Regions from separate parts of the Homo sapiens genome. Here all the other regions are linked to region 2. Evidence: promoter capture Hi-C in human tissues and cell types (Jung and others, 2019). All regions are on one chromosome and are shown on one strand. Each heading gives the region's core, a stretch centred on a gene start or on the middle of the fragment in contact. The rest is flanking DNA. Distances are from core to core; before and after follow the strand shown.

Region 1 (5,499 bases), core at 1,824-4,323, 130 kb before region 2:
ATACTTGTTTTGGGTGCCCATTAAGAGTTCAGAATAGTTCAGCCAGTGTCTTCTTTCTGCCCCATGGCCCCACTCTGAGCCCAATCCTTATAATCCTCACTAATCATCTCTGAAATGTGAGCTGATAGGAGCTCAAGCCAGGGTAGCAACCATGGCAACCAGCCCTCCTGACAGAAGACATCACTAATCTCTGACACCCCCTTTGATCCTCAATTCAAACTCCCAATCTTTCAGGACAAGATACTCCAGGCAGCCACTACCAACTGATTTTAGAGCTGGCAAAACTGCAACCAAACAAGTGACATTTTCCCCACATATCTGCACGTTAATATTGAGCCCCTAGTGACTTAAACAGAAGGATCCCTTAAGCTCCTAAACACAAAGGACAAGGAAGTCAGAGGGAAAACAGAAGGGTATGCATTTCACGAACGGGTTCCCAAATTAAAATTTCCTCCTTATCTTTTACTGAAGATTATTCTCTATCATAATGACTGTTGGGCTTTCCATTAGCGTGCAAAAGGGCTATTTTGAGGTACTTAAAAAATATGTATTTTGGCCAGGAGAGGTGGCTCACACCTGTAATCCCAGCACTTTGGGAGGGTGAGGTGGGCGGATCACCTGAGCTCAGGAGTTCAAGGCAAGCCTGGCCAACATGGTGAAACTCCATCTCTACTAAAAATACAAAAACTAGACTGGCGTGGTGGGAGGCGCCTATAATCCCAGGTACTTGGGAGGCTGAGGCAGGAGAATCACTTGAACCCAGGAGGTACAGGTTGCAGTGAGCCAAGATCGCACCACTGCACTCTAGCCTGGGAGACAGAGCGAGACTACACCTCAAAAAGAAAAAGAAAAAAAAATGTATTTTGAGACAGTATGGCGATTCCTCAAGGATCTAGAACTAGAAATACCATTTGACCCAGCAATTCCATTACTGGGTATAAACCCAAAGGATTATAAATCATTCTATGATAAGGAAGCATGCACACGTACATTTATTGCAGCACTATTTACAATAGCAAAGATTTGGAAGCAACCCAAATCAGTGATATACTGATATACAGTCTATCAAATCAGTGATAGATTAGATAAAGAAAATGTGGCACATATACACCATAAATACTATGCAGCCTTAAAAGAGAATGAGTTCATGCCCTTTGCAGGGACATGGATGAAGCTGGAAACCATCATTCTCAGCAAACTAACACAGGAACAGAAAACCAAACACCACACGTTCTCACTCATAAGTGGGAGCTGAACAATGAGAACACATGGACCCAGGGAGGGGAATATCACATACTGGGGCCTGTCGAGGGGTGGGGAGAAAGGGCAGGGACAGCATTAGGACAAATACCTAATGCATGTGGGGCTTAAAACCTAGATGACGGGTTGATGGGTGCAGCAAACCACCATGGCACATGTATACCTATGTAACAAACCTGCACGTTCTACACATGTATCCCAGAACTTAAAGTAAAATTTAAAAATATATATATGTATACTTGTCAGTACTGTCAATGTAAGAGGAGATAAGACTCACCACCGTTAAGAGGAGCATTTAGCAAATGACGCCAAGTGGGTCCTTGGAAAAAAGTCGTCACCGTGTGCTGGTTTGTAGATGTGTTCTCTCTTCCAAACTCTAGATTTCATTAGGGCAGATTCTCGGCCTAATTTGTTGAGTTGTTTCTCAACAACTAGCGTAGTGTCTAAGCCAGAGCAGACTCTCAGGTGTTTATGAATGAAGGAAACAGTTCTTTCATTTCCTTGAATAATCCTAAGTAGGCTGCTTTCAGCTCTTCTGTCATCCTGACTTGGGAAATTATTGAGACATCAGCAAAATGTATAATCGTCTTCATGAAAAGAGAGCTCACACAACTGCAATTCGCCTCGTCTTACATCATGATTTCTGATTCAGAGGACAGCAATGTAAAACCGTGAAGAAACGATGGCTCAGAGGGTGGCATCTAGACTCGTACCCTGGCCTGCCCTCGGGGCCCCTGCTCTCTGCAGTATACCACACCATCTCTGTACACTGCCTTGCGTGAATGTTCCATTTAGAAGAGAAGAGAGAAAAGAAAAAAATTAAAAGATATACATGCTTAGTTTCCCAATTTCTAAGTTGTCCCAATTCTCAGGCTAAGAAATCTGTTCTCATGACATAAAGTTAGCCATGTGCAGGATGAGTTAACTGATCTAGATCATGAAAATATTCACCATCCTGCATTGCTCCTCAACAAGTTTCAGTCAGGCTATCATGAAGCTGGTATCTGCAAACTCATCGGTTTCCTGCACACAGAGGAACTCTCAAGGTGCCAGGAGCTACCTCATTTCTAGGAAGGGAGCTGCGTCCTCAGGATGAGCATTCAACAAAATGAATTCTCCCAAGGAAGATACGCTGAGGCATTGTAAGTCATGAATAGTTTAAAAACCAGGACCCTACAATGCCCATGTCCACATTTAAAACCAGATGTGCAATCTTACATGTTCATATAAAGAATTTAGAGCACCGAGAGCTCTTGGAAAATAAGCACAAAACCCTTTTGACGGATATACTACTTGTATATTACTGAGGATGTGTGAACAGCTCAATCTTCATTCAACTGTCATAGAGACCAAGGATGGACCTTGACCAAATGAGAAGGGATGGGCTTAACACATGTTCTTCTATGGTCAAATGTGCAAGAAAGCACCACTGGAAAATCACCTAAATTTACCCAAGAAAAACAATTTTCTTGGTATTCAAGATAAACATAAAGCCAATTTTATGTACTGCATTTCTCCTTCTATAAAATTACCTATTCTCAAAAGCCTTTCAGTTAGATTCAGTGATCTCAGCTCACTGCAACCTCCGCCTCTCAGGTTCAAGTGATTCTCTGGCCTCAGCCTCCCAAGTAGTTGGGACTACAGGCGTGCACTACCAAGCCCGGCTAATTTTGTATTTTTAGTAGAGACATGTTGCTCAGGCCCGTCTCAAACTCCTGAACTCAAAGTGATCCACCCACCTCGGCCTTCCAAAGTGCTGGAATTACAGGCGTGAGCCACTGGGCCCAGCCCATGGTAAGTCTTAAATAAATAACAACTGAATTTTATTCTTACCTGAACCAACATCTTCGCTGACACCCCCCGACCACTCACTCAGGCAATATAGTCCCAGTAGTTAAGAAAAATAGTAACAAATTAAATTTTCTCTTCCCCAACCCCTTCCTTGACAAACAACAAGGTCAAGAATGAGCAGTCACTGAAAGCTAAATATTATGTTGACCCAAGAGTGGGACAAGGTTCAGTGTTTCTGGGCCTGACAGGCCCCTCATGAGCCTCATGTCCTCATTTGCCAAAAGCAAATAGAAATATCTGCCCCATCAATTTCATAGGGCTGCTGTGGATGAGTCTGTTGAGATGCCAAATGGCTTAGAACACAGTACACGAATGTAAGCACTAGTAACTAGAATCATCTTGGCGGGGAGGGCCTCAAAATCTGAACTTAATGAACAGAAATGACCACTCAATTCAAGCTCATTTTCCTGCTAAAAGAATCCATGAAGATTTTGTTTATACTTAAGTTATCCACTTAACTACTTTTATCCTTTTTCACAGATAATGAAAGAGCATCAAAAAGCAGCTCATGACATTCACCTAGAAAGATCACCATTAGAACTGCAGGGAGATATATTTAGATGAGGTTGACTGACTGAGGGAAGGTAGGGTAGAAACAAGCATATCAAGGGTCAGGGCAGTTCATTTTACCATAATTTTAATATTAAAACAAAGCCAGTAAATTACCAATATTTATTAAATACTATAGCTGCACAATAAAGCCATCCACAGAGTCCCTTAACTCAGCTACCAGAAGGGAGAGGCTGGGCATGATGGCTCATGCCTGTAATCCCAGAACTTTGGGAGGCCAAGGCAGGAGTATCCCTTGAGCCCAGGAGTTCAAGACCAGCCTGGGGAATATGGCGAAACCTCGTTTCTACAAATAAAAATAAAAATAAAAAAATAAAAATAAATAAAAATTAGCCGAGCGTGGTGGCACATACCTGTAGTCTCAGCTACTTGGGAAGCTGTATACACACACACACACACACACACACACACACACACACACACAAAGAAGGGAAAGGCCAGATGCAGTAGCTCACACCTGTAATCCCAGCACTTTGGCAAGCCAAGGCAAGAGGATCACTTGAGGTCAGAAGTTCGAGACCATCCTGGCCAACATGATGAAACCCTGTCTCTACTAAAAATACAAAAATTAGCCGGGCGTGTTGGTGGGCGCCTGTAATCCCAGGTACTCAGGAGGCTGACGCAGGAGAATCATTTGAACCCAGGAGGTGGAGGTTGCAGTGAGCTGAGATCGCGCCACTGCACTCCAGCCTGGGTGACAGAGCGAGACTCCATCTCAAAAAATAAAAGAGAAGGGAGAAACAGAATCTTTAGTCAGCGTAGATGTGCTTTGGGGAGTGGGAAGAGGTTTCTGCTGGCCAGTATCTCTTCCTGCTGACCCAACCCCATGGCCTTATCTTCAGCTGAATCCTCCATACATGCAAACCTATTTATTCCAGGCAACGGCAACCTTTTTCTGCAAAGGGCCAGACAGCACAAATTTCAGCTTTGTGGTCCACTTGGTCTTGACTCTGCTGCTGTGGCACAAGAGCCCCCACAGGCAACCCCAAAACAAATGGGCAGGACTTTAGTCAATAAAATTTCATCTCTGGACACTGAAATGTGAATTTCATGTCATTTTCACATGTCCCCAAAATAGCCTTCTTTTTCCATCTTCAACCAGTTAAAAATGTAAATGGATACAGAGTTTCCGTTCTGCAGCGTGAAAAAGTTCTGGAGGTCGAACAATGTGCCTGTATGTAATGCTGCCCAACTGAGCCCTTGCAAATGGTGAAGATGATAAATTGTATGTTATGTGTACTCTACCACAATTTTAGAAGATTTTTTTAAGTATCCGTGTCTGGCCTTGAAGCTGTAGCTTTGCTGCCCCTGAGGGAGCCCCACCTTCCAATTTCATTTTGAAACAGGATATGAGGTGTACTGCAGGTTAACCAAAAGTGAGTAGACAGCAGTCAGACATCACTGGACAAGGCCCAGGATCAGAGGCCCCAGGAACCCAGCACGTCCTGCAGTCCTCGGTGGGAAGGCAAAGGCCTGAGGTCCGCGGCTGCGCCTGCAGGGTGAGGGGACATACACTGTCTGGATTCCCGTCGTGTTTCTGTTGACCTTGCCTGAAGGCTTCTGAACTGTGAGGCACATCCCTTCAGCTTGTGTGGACCTACGGGGCTGGAACATTTTCCAATAAGGATATAGAAACTGGATTTGAGAAGGATCCACGGGCCTCATCAGCAGCCCTCCATAGGCCGAGAGTCCAACCTTGGGAAGGATATGGGGGGGTGGGAGCGTCTGCAACCCCCAACCACAGCAGCAGACCAGCAGAAAAGTCAAGAACAGGTTTGAGCAAAACAGTCTGGACAGGCTACAGAAAGCATTTACAAC
Region 2 (5,429 bases), core at 1,318-3,817:
TCCTGATCTCAAGTGATCCGCCTCGGTCTCCCAAAGTGCTGGGATTACAGGTGTGAGCCACCATGCCCAGCCCCCTTGGACAGTTTCTTTAACGAAAAGTGAAACAAAAACGTTCCTCCAGGTTCCTTGTAAACTCTGGATAATTCTGAGGTGAATGCAATAACCCAGTAAGAAACTTGTCCAGGATAATTATTTTAAGATCTTCTTTGATAAGTCTGGCTACAGAGTAAAGTTAACATTCTATTATGAAGCAAGGAATAAATCCATCCCTGTATCAATTAAAGGAAGAGAATATCAATGTGAAAGGGGGCATTAGAAACCACGCTTCAAAAGGATTCCCACAGTGACAGAACTTCTCAATGAAACACCACACCCCAAGTAACGGGGGCGGGGTGGTGCACCATAGAATCTGCCCCTAGGAGGCACAGCCACCTCCACACCGAGGGTTTCCAGTTTCCCATTCACATAAAAGAAACAAGTAAGAGATTCTGGGAGGCGCTGGGCTAGGAAGGCATCTACTCACTGTCTCCACCAACAATTCCCTCAGTAAAGCAGCCATTGCCCAATAATGCTTCTATTTATTTTACCCAGAAGCAGATCTATTAGCCAGACATTCTAAAAACACAAACGCTTCGTTGTGCTTGGAGTAACTCCAATATTGATGCCTTGCTGCAGAACGATGCTGCAGGAATATAAAGTGAGCCATGTGCTAGCTGTACCCACTTATGAAGCACACTGTCAGAAACTGTCACATCCTGGAGACCAACCCATCCGAAAGACTGAGAATAAACCCCCTACGAGAACACTGTGGAAGGAGGGAGAAAGCCAAAGATAGGATGAAGCAGGGCCCTCCTAAAGTCTCCGGAACAACGAAGCCAATTTTTAAGGCAACTCTCCCTAAAGCTTTCAGGACCAGAAAGATGTTTCTTTCTCCTCTCCTTGTTCAGACTGAATAAGAAAAGCAAGACAATGCTGGAGGATGTTCTGAAATGGGCTCCGCAAGTCACCACGTGCAAAGCACATTAAACAGAAGCCAGTGCTAGGCCAGGGTTTGGCTCTGAAGATGTTGCCTACTGGAAGGAGAGGGGCCCCCGGGGGTTTCCACGCAGAGACCAGGGCTGGGCGGTCAAACCTGGTAAACTGACAAGGAGAAGAGCCTTAACAACAATATAATGAAACGGCCAGAGGCCACCGGTACTCCCCAGGGCTGGGAGAGACAGGGAGGCCGAGGCTGCTAAACTGTTCCAGATGACAAGCAGGCTCTCCCACGTCTCCACGAACTGATCAGATACCAGGGCCTCGCTTCTTTGTGAGCCTCAGCTCCCTCCTTTCTGGGGAACCCTACTCGATCCCCAACAGCCGCTGGCCTCCAGCTGCCACAAACGAGATCCAGACTCATTACAGGGAATTCGTATTTCCCCCCCTCAAATAAAACACACACACACACACACACACACAGAGTCTCCGGGGTCCAGCCGGATCACACAGCTAAAGTTTCCGGAACTTGAATCGTAAAACCACAATCAGAAGTTGTTTGGAAATACTCGCCGCAAAGCAATCTGTCCTTTGCTTTAAAAAATAAAAAATAAAAAAAACTTTGCCCTGCATAAAGGCAGACAGTAAAGAGAGACACAAATCTAACTTGGGCAGAGGGTGTGTTCCTCTTTGTCACCCGCCGGGAACCCTCGCGCCGCGCGTGGGCGAGCGGCGGGCACCCGGCGGCATCCGCGCCAGCGGCCACCTCCCCGGCCCGCAACCGGCCTCAGGGGCCGAGATTGCGGCCCGAGGTCCGGAAGCGGCGTCCAGCGCTGTCAGCGGGCGGGTAGGACGGAAGGAAACGGGGGAAGGGCGCCGGGGTCGGGGGAGGCGAGCGGGGACCGGCGCGGAGCCCCGCAGCCCGACGTCGGCGGAGGTGAGGGGAGAGGGGCGCAGGGGGCAGCCCGGAGCCCCGAGGCCCCCGAGCTCCTGCGATGGTGGCCGGGGCTGCCCGGGCCCGACCCGCCGCCCGACTGCGCAGGGCAGGACCTCGGGGACCACGCGCCCACCTTCGCCCGCAGCCGCGGCCGTGCGCTGCGGGAGCCTGGACTCGCACAAGTTGCCGCCCGCGGCCCGGACCCCGCCGGCCCCCGCCCTCCCGCCGCGGTCATTGTTCACCGCGCGCCTCCTACCTCCACAGCGCCGGCGGCTGCGGCGGCTCCCTCTCCCGGCTCGGGCTCCGGGATCGGCGGCTCCCAAGCCCCCGGCGGCCGAGGGCGCGGCGGCGCCGGCTATTAATACCCGCGGGCGGCGGCGGCGCGGGCGCGCGAGCAGGGCTGGCGGTGGCCGGCTGAGGTCCGAGCCATCAAAGGTGGCGCGGGGCGGAGGGGAGGGCGGAGCAGGCGGGGTGGGTGGGGAGCGGGCTCCGGGTCGCCATGGCCGCCTCGACGCCGGGGCCAGCGCTACTCGCGCAGGGAGGAGCGGCGCAAAGCGGGCAGCGGCCGCGTCCCCGCCCCGCGCCCCAGCCGAGCGCCCGCACCGCTGCGCCCGCGCCGGACCCGCCGCCTCTGAGGCCGGCGAGCGGGAAGTGCAGTGGCCACCGCCCCTCCCCGGGTCTGGGCCGGCCCCTCGGCGGGGGGAGGCGGGCGCCGCGCAGCCCGAGCAGCGGGGACGCGGGAGAGCCACAGCCCCCTCCAGCGTCCGGGCCCGCGCCCTGCGCCCGCCCCGCCCCGCTCCGCTCCGCCCGGGCAGGTGCGCCCAGGGGCCTCCCGAGCCCAGCGCGCCGCCGGGGATCTGCGCCTCTCTTGGGCTTCCGGCCAGGGCCGGGCTCCGCGCGGCGCTACCTAATGCAGCGCGGGGAGCGCCACTGGCGAGACGCGAATCCAGCAGCTGTGGCGAAAAACGAACCGGGGAGAGCGGGAGACGTGTGCACGGCGAAGCCGGGAGCGGCAGGCGGGCGGTCAGGGGCTCGGACTCTGCAGGTCGCTTTTTGAGGTCCTGCCTGGGGCTGCTTCGCCTGCGACGTCGCGCGGGGAGGACAGTCTTCAGGGACCCACCGAGCCCTCCCCTCCCCCGGAGCCACAGGCACGGGCTTCCGGCACCACCCCGGGCTGCGCGGGACTTAAGCTTGGGGGAGCGGCGGCCACCCCGCGCCCGCCCACGTCCTGGCCCAGCGCCCTCCGCCCGAGCGAATCCCATGACAGTTCCCGCCCGCCCAGCCTCGGGGGACAGTGCCCTTGGGGAATGGCGTGGGGGAGGTTAGGAGTGGCTTGCGGTGCTTGAGAGCCTTCGGGGTTTCGGGAACTCTACGGAGCGGGGAGCAAGATTCAGGACCCAGGAGGCAGCGATCTAGGGGCACAGTCACCGTCCCCACCCAGCAGCTGCCGCGTTACCTTCTCTTCCCCCTTCTGAGCCTCCAGTCCCTCTCTCTAAGCGTGGCGGGAAGAGGCCTAGGGCGCAGCAAGTGACGTTCTGCCAGACCCGGGGCTAGCGGATTCCGGCCTTCGGAGGCCACTGGCTCAGAACCGTGGGCCTTTTGCGTCTTACAGGAGTTCCCTGACCTCAGACCGAGAGGGCAGATTTCACGGGAGAGGCCTCAAGTGAACTCACAGCTGGACAGGAGCTGGGCAGAAGTGGAGTGTAGGGACCCTGATAGAAGGGCGGGTTGAGACAAGAACAGGGGTCTTGGAAGTAGGGGGTGCTTGTGGGCAGCTCCTGGGGAGGAGCAGAGATGTAATACTTGCAGATTTGGTGGTCTGTGGTTGAAGAGAAGAAATGGTGGGTTTGAGGCTTTGCTCTGTCAGCCCAACCAGCTGTGTGTCACAGATCAGATTTTTTTCTGCTCGTGATTCTCTAAGTGTGGTTCTCAGACCACGACCACCACCAGCAGCCCCTGGAAACGTCAAGAAATGAACATTCTTGGGCCGCATCCCCGACCTACCTAATGAAACCTTAGCAAGCATCTGAATCGCCTGCAGGGATAAAGGACTGTCAGGCTCCATCCCCAGAGCTGCCGATTCAGTAGGTTTGGGGTGGGGCCTGAGAGTTTGCATTTCTAACAAATTCCCAGATAGTGATGTTGCTCTGGTCCTGGGATCACACTTGGAGGATCACAGTGTTAGGACAGTGGGTCTCAAACTCATGGAATCATCTGCGATTAAAAAACAACACCCTGGTTGCACCCCAGCCAAATATATAAAGATTCTAACCCAGGCATCAGTAAAGTTCCGCAGGTGATTCCAGTGTGTAGCCAGGTTTGAGAACAGTTGCTGTAGGCGGCTTTTTAAACTCTAGTGTATACCTGAATCACCAGGGAATCTTGTTGGAATGCAGATTCTGATTCAGTAAGTCTGAGACTGTTTCTAACAAGCTCTCAGGTGTTACTTGCTGGTCCAAGGACTACACGTAGTAGCAAAGTGCTATGTCATACCTCCCAACTAAAAGGAAAAAATTAGGCCGGGCGCGGTGGCTCACTCCTGTAATCCCAATACTTTGGGAGGCTGAGGCAGGTGGATCACCTGAGGTCAGGAACTTGTAAACCAGCCTGGCCAGCATGGGGAAACCTCGTCTCTACTGAAAATACAAAAATTAGCTGGGCGTGGTGGTGCGCGCCTGCAATCCCAGCTACTCGGGAGGCTGAGGCATGAGAATTGCTTGAACCCGGGAGGCAGAGGTTGCAGTGAGCCGAGATCGTGCCATTGCACTCCAGCCTGGGCAACAAAGTGAGACTCCATCTCAAAAAAAAAATCATAAAAATAATAAAAGCAAAAAATCATAGAAAGCGCAGAAAATTAGAAAAGTGACATTTTCCCAGTCACTCTCTTTGCAAGACCGACATTTTCTACATGTTACAGCATTTCTTTCATAGTCTTTGTATGTCTAGAATTAGATTTAGTTGTGATCTTAAAACTATTTATGATCATAACACATAATATATTGATCATATTAATCAATATGATAATACATAATATCCCATGTTGCCTTATCTCAACATTATCAACATTTGTGAAGGTGACTTTTAAAGGAGCCGTTCTGAGGTTTGCAGGCTGAGGGCAGGAGCCCATGGGGAGAGAGTTAATGGGGGAAAAGAGAGGGGAGAAGGGGCAGTTCTGGGAATCTAGTTAGAGAGGCTGTAAAGCGGTGGGGTCACACTAGAGAACTTCCTACGTTTCCTCCCAGCTCTCACCAACATTCCGCGGTTGGTACCTAACCTGATAGAAAGTACTGTTTCTTTTAAGAGAGGGTCTTGGCTGGGCGCTGTGGCTCAAGCCTGTAATCCCAGCACTTTGGGAGGCCAAGGCAGGCAGATCACGAGGTCAGGAGATCAAGACCATCCTGGCTAACACGGTGAAACCCCGTCTCTACTAAAAATACAAAAAATTAGCCAGGCATGGTGGCCGGCGCCTGTAGTCCTATCTACTTGGGAGGCTGAGGCAGGAGAATGGCGTGAACCC
Region 3 (5,243 bases), core at 1,099-3,598, 80 kb before region 2:
TGCATGTGGGTAAAAGGGATGTACAAAAACGCCCTTGTTTTCAGTCAGTACCTTGTGTGCCACTAAACAATAACCAGAGACAAAACCAACTCTCCAGGCCCCTGGATCCAGCATTTTAGGAGCCAGACAAGAGGGCAAAAATAAGTTTGGAAGCTAAGCAAGGCAACTTGTACCTACCCACATAAAGACTCTAACAGCCCGGTTGGCAGGACGCCGGAGGGCTGTTGGCAGTGTCTTGGTTTCTGCTGAACCAGTTTTCTGGAGAAAATCAGAACTTTATTTTTCTAAGATGGCCACGGGCCTTTCAGGAGCTTCAAAAGAGACACAAGGCAGGGGAGGGTCCTGACGGGAAAGTCTGCCTTAGAGAAATGGTCCTTAAAATGGAAAGGAAGGGAAACGAAGAAGAAACACTCTTGGTTTCATGAGGGAGTGCAGAGTCCACAGTTAGCAAACACTCGTACTGTTGTACTTGGAGCGAGAGTTCTCCTCGTGTGATGGGAATAATGGGTGAGATCGTAATAAACCCCAGGGCATGATCAGAGGAATGGTGCGAGTCCAAGCAGCTCAGTCCTGTGGGCGACACACAGGAGGTCTGATCATCGTGGAGAAATCTACTTGGGTGCAATGAGCTGTGAAATGCAACTGAAATCAAGTCAATAAAAGGAAAAGAGTTGTTCTCGGCACTGGATCACGAAACCAGACGTCCCGTTTAACAGCTCTAATAAAATATGTCATCTTCGTCCTTACAAAAATGATCAGGCTAAGAGATAAGATGGTTAATAGTAACATCTGAGGTTTTTTCAGCTCTTATATTCAACTTATGCTGTGACTACTACACAAAGCAGTCTCTTTCTTCATCATTTGAATTCTACTGCTAAGACCGTCTAGAAATTCAGAGCATGTCTGTGAATCCCAGGACTGAAGTGTGAATGAAAGGTATTCTTATTGATGCCTGCCATGTGAAGCCATGTCCTGTAGGTGAAGGGATGAAGGATCAGTCGGGAGGTAAAAAGGATCCCGTGGCCAGAGAATGCAGGAATGGAAGCCAAGGCAGAGGAAGAGAGCCTGAGGTTAGCGAGGCAGGGGTGGAAGCAGCCCACGCCTCACAGCCTTCATGTTCTCTGTGAGGCAGAAGTCATGGTCGCCTCCAACCACAGAGGGTGCCCTGGCTCTTCTCTCACTGCCTGCCTGCAGGCCCAGCTCCACAAACTGCTCACCTCAGCTCTCTTACTCTGGGGCTTCTGGTTGGGGTCAGCAAATGGGAGTCCCTGGCAAGGGATGGGTAGTCAAGAAGATAGGGACTCAGCTCTGTTTCACCTGCCCCTCCAGCACTGTAAGATAGTAACTACCTATTGTTTTGTGTTTTCTTTTTTTTTTTCTTTTTTTTTTTTTTTTTTTGAGACAGAGTCTCACTCTGTCGCCCAGGCTGGAGTGCAGTGGCACGATCTTGGCTCACTGCAAGCTCCGCCTCTGGGGTTCACGCCATTCTCCTGCCTCAGCCTCCCGAGTAGCTGGGACTACAGGCACTCGCCACCACGCCCAGCTAATTTTTTGTATTTTTAGTAGAGACGGGGTTTCACCATGTTAGCCAGGATGGTCTTGATCTCCTGACCTCGTGATCCACCTGCCTCGGCCTCCCAAAGTGCTGGGATTACAGGCATGAGCCACCACGCCTGGCCGTAACTGCCTATTTTTTAAGCCACGGGTTTGTAGTACTTTGTTATGGCTGCCCTGGGAAAGTAATTCAGCTTTCAAACATGAAAAAAGGTATTGTTGTGATAACCTAACAACTCCACAAATGCCCTCTGGTCTTGCTCTGCAATGCTTTACACACTCAGTCTTATGCCTAGATCAAAGGAAATGGAGCACCTGAGTTCTGTTTGCTGGCAGAAATACTCACTGACAAATGGCCACTGGAAGATGGGATAATAGCCAATTGCATTTTATAGTTCATGTCACAGGCAAATTACATCAAAACTAAACAATGAGCTGAAGAAAGCAACTGACCTGCTCCTTTCTAATGCTTTTGAACAGAGTCCTTTGAAAACACTGGATCTAAATGCTTTTCCAGCTTGGTGGGCACCCAGGTGTGGCAAGCTTAACAGAGTAGCTTCTGGGGAGATGAGGAAATTGGAATGCAAGAAGTAAAAATAACTTTCCTAACATAAATTGAAACCAAGCAATCAACTTCCATTTGTTACTTCCAGTTTGTACCATTTACATAATCACTAAGAATCCTGGAAGTTAATTTCCAGAGCCACAGATTCTTTGTGATAAAAAACAAAGCAATGTCTTCTATGGCCAGGCGCTGTGGCTCACACCTGTAATTCCAGGACTTTGGGAGGCCGAGGCGGGTGGATCACCTGAGATCAGGAGTTCGAGACCAGCCTGGACAATATGGTGAAACTCCATCTCTCCTAAAAAATACAAAAATTAGCCGGGCATGGTGGCGGGTGCCCGTAGTCCCAGCTGTCGGGGGACTGAGGCAAGAGAATCACTTGAACCCCGGAGGCGGAGGTTGCAGTGAGCCAATATCGTGCCACTGCACTCCAGCCTGGTGACAGAGCAAGACTCTGTCTCAAACAAACAAACAAACAAAAAGAAATGCCTTCTTTTGGCAACACTACCAATGTTCCTTTCATGTCAACTGAAGGAAGACATTATTTCAAGTAAAACATTTGTCACAGAGTTGACTTCTCAGCCCTTGGTGACAGCACTGAGCCATCCAGGCTGTAAAACTGATGACTGCAGGTGCTCTCCCACTCCTGGGGGGCTCCCTGCTTCTGTCCCATCAGCTGCCACGCCCTGTCAGGTCTACGTCCTGGGTTTCTCCTGTATCTGTCAGTCCCCTGACATTGCTTCTGCAGGGCCCTGGCCCTTATCAGTAACTACCATGTGGAGATGATATTGCCAAAACCCTGGTCACTGGGCTTTCCTTCTGCAGACTCCGCCCTCTTCAACCCATCCTGCCCACTTAAGAGCACCTTCCGGCCAGGCACGGTGGCTCATGTCTGTAATCTCAGCACTTTAGGAGGCCAAGGCAGCCGGGTTGCGAGGTCAAGAGACCAAGACCATCCTGGCCAACATGGTGAAACCCCATGTCTACTTAAAAAAAAAAAAAAAAAAAAAATTAGCTGGGCATGGTGGTGCACGCCTGCAGTCCTAGTCCTACCTACTGGGGAGGCTGAGGCAGGAGAATCACTTGAACCCGGGAGGCGGAGGTTGCAGTGAGCGGAGATCATTCCACTGCACTCCAGCCTAGCAACAGAGCAAGACTCCGTCTCAAAAAACAAAAAAAAAAAGCACCCTCCACTGGCACCTGTCACAGGCACTAGCACAGCCAACATGTTGTATTATCCTAACGGCTCTTTATGGCCCCAGACCATTAACAAAGTGAGTGACACACAGGCTTAGGTGTATGTGGTCCTGGGCTGGGACTCCAGCTCCTTCTCTCCAGCACTCTGACCCGCGCCAAGTCACTTATGCCCTGTGAGACTAATCGGTGTTATTCTCACCTGCCTCACAGGTTCACTTAGCAACAAATGAGATAATGTACGGGCAGACTTGGCACAATGTCTGGCACACAGCAAGGGATTTTTCAGAGGGTAGTTATTGTTTTTATTCATTTTCTTATCACCAGTAGCACCTTGCCTTCCATGTTGATACACATTTGTGAAACCCGTATCATGTTTCCAAGACCACATTCCATAAAATAAAACCAGAGCCACAGAATTCCACTGTGGGTATCTGGTCCAACTTCCTGTTTGTATAAATGAGGAAACAGAGACCTATGAGGCTCTCCTTCAAAGTTACAAAGTGCTAACAGCTTTGAGAACTGCTCTTTTACATGATCATTCTATCTACAGAAGAGAAATCCCAAACTAAGTCATTCTGTGTCTGTCTTATGAGTTAAAATCATTACCTCCAGCTCAAATGCTCAAAGTGATAGAAGACAGCAAATAATTGAACATTCAAACATGGCAGATAGTTTTTTAAAATCAGTCCATTTAATATGTGCAATGTTTTTATATTTACATTCTAACACAAGAGCATCCAGCTGACTGAGCACTTCCTTCAAATGAACCCACAGAGCCCATATTGAGAAGACCTACCCTAGAGGATCTTGAAATCCTATGTCTACCTTAAAACCATTCATCCAGTCCATGGTAGAGGGACACATGATTCACCCAGGAACATCCTGACTCTAGGAAAATGGAAAAGTTTTGAAGCTAAGAAAATAGAGGAGATCAAGAAATCAGGAAAGCAAAAATGCACGTAAAATTTCTGAGCGCAAAGTGCAACCCCCTCAATTTTCAAGTTGATTAAACTGAAGCTCACAGAAGCTGCACGTAAGTCCACAAAAACGCAGTAAACGAGCTTGGCAGAAATGGAGGTTTCACGGCAATTGTCCAAGTGGTGCTTGGTTCTTATAGACCTTCCAAAAGGCCCCTTGGGACACAGCTTTGGCTTAGGTAATGATTCCCCTCCAAAGAAAGCCCCAGTTTGATGTGAGACTACACAGGCAGCTGTGGTCTAAGAGGAATGACTCCATCTGACAGAAGCACATGATTTTTTATTCTTAAGTGCTTTCATTCGCTTTCTTTTCTCCCATTGATCCAGCCAACAGCTCTACATTGAAAGCAGAGCCTCAATTCCGTGAAAGAACAAGAAGGAAACTAAAGTTCAGGGTGAAAGGAAGGAAGACAACCTACTTTCATGAGAACCAAATCTGTGTTCTCTGCAAGGTGTTTTTGCAGAAGATCTCATTAGAGCCTCACCTGGGCCTCAAGTGGTCGGTATTCTCCATGTGTAGAGATGAGAATGGGCAGCCACTCATGCAGCGCCACATAGGTAGGAAGCGAGGCGGCCCAGACCCAGGGCCTGCACTTCCCCTTTAACCCCTCCGTTTCTTATCATTGAGAATATTGTTTCCACTTAAAAGAGAAAAAAAGCAGCTTTTCAAACTTCCTCCATTTTCTCAGATCATGGCCCATTTTAAAGTCAGATTCAGACATTCTCAATTAGTTTATTCTTTTAATTAGGTTATACTGGTTTTTTTTTTCAGGGATAAAATAGCAAACAGCTGTTAAAGAATTACTGCAAGCATATCAGAGCTAGAGAACTGACTTTGATCACAAGGGTCTTAACTACAGCTGAAAGGGGTGCACACAAACATTTCAAGCCAGCTCTTAAATTCTACTCTTTGCTCCTGAGACGCCAGAAAGGAAAGCTAACAGTATTTA
Region 4 (4,946 bases), core at 2,383-4,882, 110 kb before region 2:
AAAGCTGTATATAACTATGCGATGAGCCCCACTTTGTGTTATGAAGAGCCAAAACTGCCCATCAGTTTGTTCCAAACCCCACATGGAAAGCATGCATGAAAACTGTCATACACACACAAACAAGACAGTGGATTCTGACCTCAAACCCAGAAATTCTGCCTCCACCCAGGGCGCTCTTCATTACAGCAAACCTAAAACTAACCACATGGCCCAGTTTCCATGAAATGTTTGCTATGAACTGATGCAGCAACTATAAAATAAAAGGCCAAGAGCAGAGCACATCTGGCTGGAAACATCTGGGCTGGAAACCGAGCTCAACGATGACTTAGCGGTGCGACCTTGGATGAACGCAGCAAAGCCCACAGCAGTCTACACTTCCTACTTTGTAAGTGATGTGTTGTTATAAATACATCATCTCGCTTAATCCTCACAACCACCTTTTGAGGTGGAGACCATCATCCTCATTTCACAAATGGTGAAACCCAGGCCATAGTTTAAAAGTGGCAGAGGCAGGCAGGGTCCAAATCCAGTTTTTGTCTCACATCAAAGTCTTTGATCTGAGTCTCAGTTTCTTCACTGATAAGCCAGATTGGGATATCTGACTCATGCGGTTGCTATGGGCATTTCCTGCGAGAGCATCAGGAAAATCCTCTGCAACAGCACTCAGTCAACGGCAGCTACTGAGACTTTTATTACCAATCACTGGCGTCATCTTCTGCAGCCCCAGCAGTGGGTTAAGAGAAATAAAAGGCTAAACTCAGGACTACTTGCCAACAAGCATTTAACAGCATTCCTTAATGCTTCAGATTAATTTTCATCTCCCTCAACACCCTTTTTAAAGATCAGAAACTTAACATTTTTCCTTGCTGGACAAACTTGGCTTGAACATTGCTTTCGTCGCAGACTAAATCAACATACAGCTATTAATGCACCACACTCCCTACTTTGAGTATGGGTGCCACCAAGGTTCTCTCCAACCTTTGGAATTCTACGCAGTCATAGCTAAGTAGCTAGTTTTGTTTTGATAAAAGCTACTTTAAAATCTCAGGGGCCTATGCTTGCCAAAATCAAGTTGAAAAATGTTGGTGTCAAACAATTTGGAAGTATTTTTCTAAAAATAACACCCTGAGAATCTGAGGCAGATATATTTTCCTCTGAAGTATACATGATCACCGGGGCTCACTGGGTCGCTGACTTGAATGTTAGAGCAGGATAATAGATAATCTTCCTTAAAGAACAACACTGGACACTTTCTTTGACATTGACTTACATCCAATTTCAGGTCCTGGGAAGGCACAGGCAACTAAGTGGGTGGGTATTAAAGACAAAGGTCTTCAATAAATGTTTAAAGAACACAGTACAGAGATACCTGGCATTTTGGAGGGCACATTCTACAGCAGCCTGTGAGAGGAAATCTCAGCATTTGGTAGCATCCATGAGGGTCAAGCCAGACCATCTGCCACCAGGGCACTCCTGTCCATTAGCTGGGCCATTGTTGGCTTGTCTTTGAGGTACAAGTCAAAGTAATGTGAAAAAGTCATCTTCACTCTGTGTTGGGGTCGGTTTTAATTTTAATAAATGAAAATATGCAGGTAATGAACGTTCTATTGAACCTACCCAAGAACATGAATGTGAACCTGACAAGAGCCACGCTGAAGTCTTAAAGTTATTGAGTCACATCACATGCACTGATATTCTTTTAGTCTTATGAGTCTCACATTGAATAGTCAGGAAGTCTGAACAGTCAAAATGCAAATGGGCATTTTGAAAAATTCATCTGATAATAAAGTCATTATAACTCTAATCTCCTAATATGCTAATATAATACATATTATTAACATTGTTGTTAAATACATATATAGGTGGGCACGGTGGCTCACGCCTGTAATCCCAGCACTTTGGGAGGCCGAAGAGGGCAGATCACTTGAAGTCAGGAGTTTGAGACCAGGTTGGCCAACATAGTGAAACCCTGTCTCTACTAAAAATACAAAAAATAACCGGGCATGGTGGCAGGATCCTGCAATCCCAGCTCTTCAGGAGGCTGACGCAGGAGAATCGCTTGGACCCAGGAGGCGGAGACTGCATTGAGCCAAGATTGCGTCACTGCACACCCTGGGCAACAGAGTGAATGAGACACCATCTCAAAATACACACATACATACATACATACAATTAGCTATATTACTATCCAATCTGCTATCTTTTTATGGTTTATCATGGACTTTATCAAATTGCGTGATGCCAACAGGTGATGCTGGAGGGCTTTGGTAGTTGTTTGTCCTCCCTCTTCCCTAATGGGGACTTTTTTTTCTTTTTTTTTTTTTTGAGATGGAGTCTCACTCTGTCACTCAGGCTGGAGTGCAATGGCGTGATCTCAGCTTACTGCAACCTCCACCTCCCGGGTTCAAGCCATTCTCCTGCCTCAGCCTCCCAAGTAGCTGGGATTACAGGTGTGCGCCACCATGCCCAGCTAATTTTTGTATTTTTAGTAGAGGTGGGGTTTCACCATGTTGGCCAGGCTGGCCTCAAATTCCTGACCTCAAGTGATCCACCCGCCTCAGCCTCCCAAAGTGCTGGGATTACAGGCGTAAGAATACCATGCCCGGCCCCCAGTGGGGACTTTCTATTAAGCAAATAAAGTCGTCTATATCTCTTGCATAAAACCATCCTGAGAGTGCACAGGGCCTAGAATCCTAGACAAGGAGGCAGAAGATATGAACTGTGGCCCCGCCTTAGCCACCGTCTAACTGAATGAACTTGGACAAAGCACCTGTTTGAGCCTCACTTCTTTCTTTGAGAAATGGGCATCCAGGTCTTCCAGTTCTAACAGCTGTCCACTTAACTTCATGGTTCAACAATAAGATTTAATATTCTTTATGATTCAAATGTACACACATGTATGTGCCTTATTCATATATTAGAAATCGTCATTTTTCTAAGAATAAACATATTTATGTATTCACAAGTTCATAAACATCTATGAAGTCCCTGCTATGTGCCAAGCACTGTGCTCGAGCCTAGGACAGATCAAAGACCAGGGGCCACACAATCCCTCTCCTTACAGCTAAGTGGGGAAGACAGGCACTGAACCAGTAATTTACAAACCAAATCATGCAGTGGTTTAGAATTACACACATGTGTTAAACTATAAAAAGAGGCAGATGAGTGACCAACACAGAATTTAGGCTGGGATTACTTCTTAAGGGATGGGGGTTAAAAGTCTTCAGAGAGTGGCCCATACTGGTAGTGTTATATATTTTTTTCTTTTTCCTTTTCTTTTTTTTTTTGAGACAGAGTCTTGCTCTGTCGCCCAGGCTAGAGTGCAGTGGTGTGATCTCGGCTCACTGCAACCTCTGCCTCTCGGGTTCAAGCGATTCTCCTGCCTCAGCCTCCCAAGTAGCTGGGATTACAGGCACCTGCCACCATGCCCAGCTAATTTTTGTATTTTTAGCAGAGATGGGGTTTCACCATGTTAGCCACGCTGGTCTCAAACTCTTGACCTCGTGATCCACCCGCCTCGGCCTCCCAAAGTGCTGGGATTATAAGTGTGAGCCACCGTGCCCGGCCCTCATATTTTTATTTGTTAAACTATACTTACACTTTTTATAGCCTCTTTTGTAAATATGCCATATTTCACAATTTAAAGTTTTGACAGATTATGTGAGAAAGAAACAAATCATGTACAAACCCAAAAGACTGGCATTATTGTACCTTTCTTTAGAACCTAAACCATTCAAAACACATATGGTTTCAGATTTTAACATCATTATTTTGTGACTTGAGATGGCATTTTAAAGAATGACAGACTCAGTTTTGCAGGTTTTTAAATCCCACATTTCTTTTCAAAGTGTCTGTGTTTCTCCGATTAAGTCACTGGGCCACCCCAATGTTTGGTGTTCAGAAATCATTGGTGAATCTCACGAGTAAATTTAAAGCGATGTATTTTCTCATACATATAAAATCATCTATTTTCTCTTTTATTAAATGCCTATCCTTTCCAAGGCTTAAAAGATTGAAAACTTAAAAATTAGGTTTTCAAAACAGGTCAACAATCTAAACCCTGATGAATTTTGAAGATTTCCAAAAGAAATTTGGGGAAGGAGCTGTCAAACATCGCATATGTAACTGAAGGGAGAGAGGTGGGGAACCAGACTGTTCATTTGCCCCTGGAATTTCATGTTGTCAATACCACCACGGGGAACCATCACTAAGAAACGGTATGGCCTCAGGTTTCCGTCTGTCTTTTTTCTTCTATAATGCTCAAAGACAGGTGTAAACACAAGGCCTGTGTGATATTTCTTTGGGAGATGTACATCTTGTTACCTTCCTGCCTCCCCGAGACATAGGCCTGAGTGACATTAATCATTCCAATAGCCAAACAATTTCTGTGTCATCAATGGGCCATTAGCTGGGTGAAGAACATGGTGGGGAAACACAAGACTTCTGCCAAAATATCTCTGTTGCCACAAGGAAAAAGTAAAACAGTAAGCAGACCAGAAGTTCTTTTTAATGATGTATTCCTCAAGCAAAAATCAGACCTCTTCCCTCAATAATGGGCTGTAACACTCTTGCAAAAAAGCGTCTATCTTACAAGAGTTTAAGTTCTTACCATGTCACATAAAAGAAGTATCGTATCATTAAAAATTTTATGTTCCCAAAAAAGTTCACCAAGTACATTAACAAGGAGCTATACTTGCAATATTTCCAAAGGCAAAGTTGTAACAGTAAAATAATTCAATTAAAGCATCACAAAAGATACCTGAAAATTCCTATTCGTCTAAATGAGCACCCATGGGTGCTCACTTAGTTGAAATACAGTCGATTCTCATTATTTGCTGTAGTTGCACTCTACATGGTCACCACTGAACTAGGGAACACTGAACTGTTGCGTCTAGGAGAAATACAAGATTAGATTCTGAGATCTTCTGTCATATTCTCATCAACTG

Evidence for each region. The method cuts DNA at HindIII sites, captures the fragments that hold promoters and counts their contacts. A contact is called where the count stands out against the background at its distance.
Region 1: a fragment that was not itself captured here is called in contact with the fragment with the promoter of FARP1 in region 2 in 6 of the 25 tissues and cell types used here (IMR-90 fibroblasts, dorsolateral prefrontal cortex, mesenchymal stem cells and 3 more).
Region 3: a fragment that was not itself captured here is called in contact with the fragment with the promoter of FARP1 in region 2 in 3 of the 25 tissues and cell types used here (dorsolateral prefrontal cortex, mesenchymal stem cells and thymus).
Region 4: a fragment that was not itself captured here is called in contact with the fragment with the promoter of FARP1 in region 2 in 5 of the 25 tissues and cell types used here (IMR-90 fibroblasts, hippocampus, liver and 2 more).

Annotation. Positions count from the first base shown.
Region 1 is chr13:98,267,385-98,272,883 of GRCh38, reverse strand. All of the region lies in intron 2 of FARP1 (FERM, ARH/RhoGEF and pleckstrin domain protein 1), which reads right to left. Among named protein-coding and RNA genes, the nearest start is that of MIR3170, 62 kb to the right of the region's middle. The HindIII fragment of the contact is 9,127 bases long and covers 1-5,499 here.
Region 2 is chr13:98,140,232-98,145,660 of GRCh38, reverse strand. FARP1 (FERM, ARH/RhoGEF and pleckstrin domain protein 1) reads right to left here and starts at 2,567. Exons shown (of 27, transcript NM_005766.4): 1 at 2,169-2,567. LOC105370328 (a long non-coding RNA gene) reads left to right here and starts at 1,751. Exons shown (of 3, transcript XR_931670.4): 1 at 1,751-1,822. RefSeq lists silencers at 2,517-2,826, 3,067-3,116. The HindIII fragment of the contact is 5,274 bases long and covers 292-5,429 here.
Region 3 is chr13:98,220,682-98,225,924 of GRCh38, reverse strand. All of the region lies in intron 2 of FARP1 (FERM, ARH/RhoGEF and pleckstrin domain protein 1), which reads right to left. Among named protein-coding and RNA genes, the nearest start is that of MIR3170, 15 kb to the right of the region's middle. The HindIII fragment of the contact is 6,407 bases long and covers 1-5,243 here.
Region 4 is chr13:98,249,062-98,254,007 of GRCh38, reverse strand. All of the region lies in intron 2 of FARP1 (FERM, ARH/RhoGEF and pleckstrin domain protein 1), which reads right to left. Among named protein-coding and RNA genes, the nearest start is that of MIR3170, 43 kb to the right of the region's middle. The HindIII fragment of the contact is 3,624 bases long and covers 1,821-4,946 here.